2 separate regions of the Homo sapiens genome follow, and region 2 is linked to region 1. The links are contacts of gene promoters, found by promoter capture Hi-C in blood cells and fetal thymus (Javierre and others, 2016). All regions are on one chromosome and are shown on one strand. The core of a region is centred on a gene start or on the middle of the fragment in contact, and the rest is flanking DNA. Distances in the headings are between cores, read along the strand shown. Region 1 holds the start of TMCO5A (transmembrane and coiled-coil domains 5A). Region 2 overlaps LOC105370765 (a long non-coding RNA gene).

Evidence for each region. Contacts are between HindIII fragments. The CHiCAGO score rates a contact against its expected background, and 5 or more counts as called.
Region 2: a fragment that was not itself captured here is called in contact with the fragment with the promoter of TMCO5A in region 1 in 1 of 17 cell types (M2 macrophages); the score reaches 5.2 in M2 macrophages.

What each region holds. Positions count from the first base shown.
Region 1 is chr15:37,933,054-37,936,081 of GRCh38, forward strand. TMCO5A (transmembrane and coiled-coil domains 5A) reads left to right here and starts at 1,587. Exons shown (of 12, transcript NM_152453.4): 1 at 1,587-1,641; 2 at 2,204-2,295. The HindIII fragment of the contact is 2,202 bases long and covers 789-2,990 here.
Region 2 is chr15:35,095,257-35,098,284 of GRCh38, forward strand. LOC105370765 (a long non-coding RNA gene) reads right to left here. Exons shown (of 2, transcript XR_932103.4): 1 at 1,270-3,028. Among named protein-coding and RNA genes, the nearest start is that of NANOGP8, 11 kb to the left of the region's middle. The HindIII fragment of the contact is 2,996 bases long and covers 1-2,900 here.

The DNA.
Region 1 (3,028 bases), core at 337-2,836:
CTGATCATACCTTCCCCTCCAGCTCTTGTTCCTAAAGTTGGCAGAAAAGACTCAATAAAGCCAGTTTGAGACATCATAAAATTTTCCAATTTAAAATTCTCTTTCAGGTAATTTCTCAGTCTTTTAAGGAGATTCTCCCTCTCCAGAGTGCTGCTCTTTCCTAAGATGGTGGCAGGTACAAGGAAGAGCTAGGTACCCAGGAAGCATCACAGGAAAAGCTTTGGGTTTTCATGCCTTCCCTTCATGCTCCTAGATCTGCTGGACTCTGTGTCCATCTCAGCACAACTGGAGGGCTTCTCTTGTCCACCAAGCTTCTTACCACATCTACACCCCACTTAACGGGTCTGAGAATGCTCAGTCGCTTCTTCTGCGCCACCCTAATTATACTTGCAACAACCTCCTCACTCTTACCTCCTTCACCTGTTTATGTTTCCTCATGGCAGTGTTACCAAGCAAAAGAGTGTCACTGCCCAATGTGCTGGAAGCCAATACTATGACACAAGGTTTGTGAGAAAAAAAAGGCTTTTTACTGTAGGTCTACTAACAAGGACACAGGAATCCAACTCAAATCTGTCTCTCTGTGCTGGCTCTCAGGCAGTACTTTTATTAGAAAAGGTTTAGGGAGTGGATTCTGGAATTAGCAAATGACTGGTAGAAGAAAAGGGGAGGTCTGGAAAGTCCTCAGGCATGCACGATTATCTCTTCATGCCTCCTTATGGGTCCCATGTGCAAATTCAGGGGAAATTAGTATAAAACATGCAGTGGAAATTCAAGCTGTGACATCAGTAAGCTTGTTCTGCACAGACTCCAGTTGGCCTTATTGGTTCCAACCAATTTCAGCTAGGTTTTTTGTTTTGAAATCTCTCAAATAGAGGGAGTTTCAGCATTTCAGCAAGTTGTTTATTTTCTTATCTGCTATTCTGCAAGCTCAAGAATTTGTTAGTCACTGGTTTCTTTAACTCTTTGGGGTAAAATTTCAGCAGTCTCCTCTTTTATCATATCAAGTAAAAATAATTTTATTTATTTTATTGATTGTGTTACCAGTCCCCCCTACACACACGCGCGCGCGCGCACACACACACACACACACACACACACACACACATCTTAGAATATAAACTTCATGAGGTCAAGGGCTTTTGGCTGCTTTGTTCATTCTTTCCCTCCAGTGCTTAGAACAGAGCCTAGAAGATACACATCGTGTTCATTCAGTGTTTCACTGTTTGTTGAATGAATGAGTAGTTAGTTGGCTACATGATGAAATTAGACTGCTGGCCAAAAGACCTAGACTTTCCATTTTAGTCACACTGAGGCAGGAAGAGAGCTTTATCTGCCAGAGAAATAAAAGATAGAGGTTGCCCCTTCAAACAGCCCAGAAATCAAATCCATTGAACCTACTGCTATCCAGGGAAGACTTGGCCATGAAATCCACACACTTATCTAGGCTCTGGACTCTACACAAATGATGAGAAACCATTGCCACCCACCCCACTATGACATGTTGCCCCGCCCATCCTATGTCATGACCTCTCAGAATGTTCTGAGATTCTATTGGATAGTTCCAGTGGAGAAAGATTAGACTCCTCAGAAGCTAATTGACTAGGGAAGGATCAGGAAGACAAGACACATCAAAAAGGGGAGGTAGAGTTTGTAGAAGAAATAAAGGGGAAAAAAAGAAACTAAGGGGAAGGGAGAGACAAATGATTTACATATACTTGGTTTTCTGAGCCCTCTTTAATACTAAAGATCTTAATATCTGGAAATTCTGGCATAAGCAAAGATAGAGAGCAAAGATTACTTTTCAGGGATATTGTAAACCTACATCCATGCCCATGGGGCTTTATGGAAAGCAACTGGCCTAGAGCAAAAAGAGACTTATTGATTATCTCTATTTCTTTATATTGTCTTGTATAAACTTCCACAGGGTTTTATGTTGATAAACCATCTCTGACTATATCTATTAATAGGACGTATATTCCAGCATTATCTCTGTATCCTGACTGTATCTTTAATAGGGTATAATCAGAACACGGGCAGAAGAATCAAAAGGCTGAGTTTTGTCATGGTTAAAATGTGGGGATTAGAGGGAGAAAATGAGTTAACTTAATTTGATTTCTACTTTTTGGGACTCTTCCCTAGTTACTGTATTCATAAATGAACCCATTTCTCCAATTCATTAGATACATCTCTGTTGGCATTTTAGGGAATCTACAATGGAAGGACACAAGAAAGATCAGCTGGATTAAGTAGTCATGATTATGCAAAGCCATATCCAGAGACCAAGGTGTAAAGCAGGTTCGCTATTGACCCCTTGCCTCATCTTCCAGCCTCCTTCTCCCCTTCTACTCCTGTTATGCAACCACCTCCGCACCCTACCCCAAGCATGCCATACCTTCCTGAAGTGATTACTGTAAATCCCCCATCCAAGCAAGCCCTTCCAAGATAGGACTTAACTTTCCAATATTATCCTTCATTCCTATCTAAAACAAAAGCCTCTGTGCCTCACTGTGCTAATAGTGGTTAATCAACTGAAACACAAACCAATGAATTAATTTACATTAGTAGAAAAAGAAAAATATATCAAGAGCCTCCCATGTACCCTTCCCAAAATACTCTAGAGTTACCATTATTTCATTTAAATTTACTTCAAAAAAGATATTTGCATTTTTGAAAGCTATGCCTAGAGCCTATGTGGGTGTGCTCAATGGAATTACTCTCATGGTAAAAATTTCAAACTTTGTAGCAGGCAAGTGAGGGAGAGGTGTTGAGGTGGGAGAAGGAAGGGAAAGATTGAAGCCCTATCATGCTGGTGGAAACCCCTTGTGGCTCTGCAGAAAGCCAGGCCCAACCAGAAGTGATATGCCAGGTGCTTAGATAAAAGTGTTCAATAAATGTGTATTGTATGAGCAGGTTTTGTGAATAGTTTATCTAAGAAAAGATTGCCAAGAGAAACATTTCTCCCCAGCGCAAGGGGTTATTTAAGGAAGCAAAGCTTCTCAAGAAACCAGAGTGAAGGTGCACTGTTAGA
Region 2 (3,028 bases), core at 153-2,652, 2.8 Mb before region 1:
ACGAGGGCTACTAGGCAGATATGCACAAACACAACACAGATCCAGAAAAAAGATGCTAATTGGTATTTTTACATTGGTATGCAAGAGGGAAATCAAGGCTCATTTAAGAAAATGCTCACTTTCTGGGCTGGGCACGGTGGCTCATGCCTGTAATCCCAGCACTTTGGGAGGCTGAGGTGGGTGGATCATGAGGTCAGGAATTCAAGACCAGCCTAGCCAAGATGGTGAAACCCTGTCTCTACTAAAAAGACAAAAATTAGCCAGGCATGGTGGTGGGTGCCTGCAATCCCAGCTACTCGGGAGGCTGAGGCAGAGAATTGCTTGAACCCGGGAGATGGAGGTTGCAGTGAGTGGAGATCATACCACTACACTCCAGCCTGGGCGACAGAGTGAGACTCCATCTCAAAAAAAAAAAAAAAAAATGCTCACTTTCCCATAGCTGCCTACAACTTTGTGCACTGATAGGGTCTTACATATTTTTGTGTTTTGGATGCTGGGATAGTCATCAACATACACTAATTTTGATGCTGATGATCTCTAAACTCTTCTGGCAAGAGGGCATGGTTAATAAAAGTTAAAAAAAAACAGAATAAAATGGATTCATATATATATGTGTGTGTGTATACATACATAAATATATATACACACACATATATATATATATAATGTTTAGAACCGAAATCAAATATATATTTGTGTACGCTAAGAGAAAACCTTGTTAGTTAAATATTGATGTGAGGGTCTGTCACTTAGTGGCAAAAATTCTTCAAATTTCAAATCTTAAAGATCTCTTCCTCAGTTGTGGGTTTCTCGCAATCATGTGCTGGATGCATACACTACTACAAAGATCTCTGGGAAATGCTCTTTGGCAGCAGGACTTGGAAATTATGACGAAAAAACACTCACTAGCACAAGTTGTGTAAAAAGATGTTGATGCTACTTTCTGAACATTTAATAGCTGTTTGCATTTATTTATACACATAAGTGGCATCACCATATTAATATAAACTGTTTCTATCAAAAGTCGAAGGAAGTGAAAAGGAGAAGAGGGAGATTCCTAGAGAAAAAAGGGAAGCACAGAATCAGCAGCCTCTACCTTCCAAAAACATTTCAAAAATCACTCTACCCATCAGGAGGATTTTACATTTTCCCACTTTATAAAAGGAAGGGAAATAATTCTCGATTGGAGAGAAAGTGACCTTATGATCAAGCCATTGCATTGTTTCCCCACTTTTCAACTTGTAAAGAGGGCAAGACATAGCTACCCACCTTCTGAAGCAAGGCAGGCCTGAGGTTGCACTTGCTTCATGTGCAGTTCACAGTCAATGTCACATCTACTGTGTCTTCCGCTTGCAGCTCAGATGCAGTCCTGAAATGCATTAGATGGCATGTGATGGCTTTTTCTGGGTATAGTATCAGAGTGATTCATGAGAAAGGGATCAGAAATGGGTTGAGTCTTGCAGTGCACAGTGTCTTCATACCCCTGACTAAAATGCTAACAAGGGAACTTTGCAGGGCTCTAAAACAACTCTCAGTCATACTGTAGTATATACAGTGCTCCCCACATTGGCCTGGGATTAAGATCCTTTTGAAAGGCCAGGCGCGGTTGCTCATGCCTGTAATCCTAGCACTTTGGGAGGCCAAGGCAGGCAGTTCATCTGAGGTTGGGAGTTCGAGACCAGCCTCACTGTTTTTTTCATATGAAAGGAGCCATTCACATCAATGGGTGCTTTGCGGGCCCTGGGGTCAGAAAATAGGCAGACGTACAAGGCAGTAGGTACCCGTTTCCATTCTTAACTAGGCTAGCATTTTTCCAGTTGAAATGCCCAACATATGCACCTTTAAATGCCTTACTTAGGCTTTGAATGACTGCAAAAAACAAGTTTTGCTTACGAATTTAGTTTTCCTGTTTTCTCAGTGCTAGGGAAGGAGCACTTTCTTCTTCTTCTTCTACTGACAATGAGGCTCAGCTCTTGACAATTTAAACTCTGTAAGAAACTCTAGAATTTTGATGCACTGTTGTATTCACTCATTAAGGAACAAAGCCCCTTTCCAAAATAAATAGACTTGAGGTCTAGATCATGAAGGCCTGAAGAAGTAAAGTTAGGTGCAGAAGAGCCGTCTTTTGAAGAAGTTCACCATGAAAATAGTGCACGGGCACAGAGTGGCTGCAGTTATTGCTTATGAGGATAAATGAGATAATGGATACTCACGGGCTGAATTGTGTCTTTTCCCCACAACCCCTGTCCCAAATGCACATGCTGAAGTCCTGACTCTCAGTACCTCAGAATGTGACTGTACTTGGAGATAGCACCTTTAAAGAGGTAACTAAGATAAAATAAGGTCATATGAGTAGACCTTAATACAATATGATTGATATCCTTATAAGAAGAGGAGATCAGGACACAGTCCACACACTGAGGAGTGACCATGTGAGGACACAATGAGAGGAAACCATCTACAAGCCAAGGAGAGAGGCCTCAGAAGAAACCAAACCTGCCAGCACCTTGATCTTGGACGTCCACCCTCCAGAACTGTGGGAAAATAAATTTCTATTGTTTAAGGCACCCCATTTGTGGTATTTTGTCGTGGCAGCCCTAGAAAACTAATACAGATTTGAAAATATTGGTAATTTATAAAGTATTATTATACAAATGTTAGTTATCTTTATTATTATGTGATTGTGTTGCACTGGAATAATGTTATTATTCTAAAAATAAGAGTGAGGGAGGAAGACATATCATGAAGGAGCTAGGGAGTGGAAAGTGACCTGGATGTTAAAAAGGAACGTAGTTGAGTAAAAACAGATTGAATGCTAGGTGCTTGGTAGTACCAAGAAGAGTAAAGTATGCATTTTGACCCCTAGCAAATGTCAACATGATAAGGAAGATGCTGAAAGAAGCTTGGGGAGTGGGGGAAAGGCAATTACTTCTTGTTGGGTGTGATGAGTGGAGGTGGGGAAGAAGGAGTTTGCAAAGTTTTCATAAAAAGAAAGTAACATTTAAGGTTCAGAAATGAAGACTTTTCT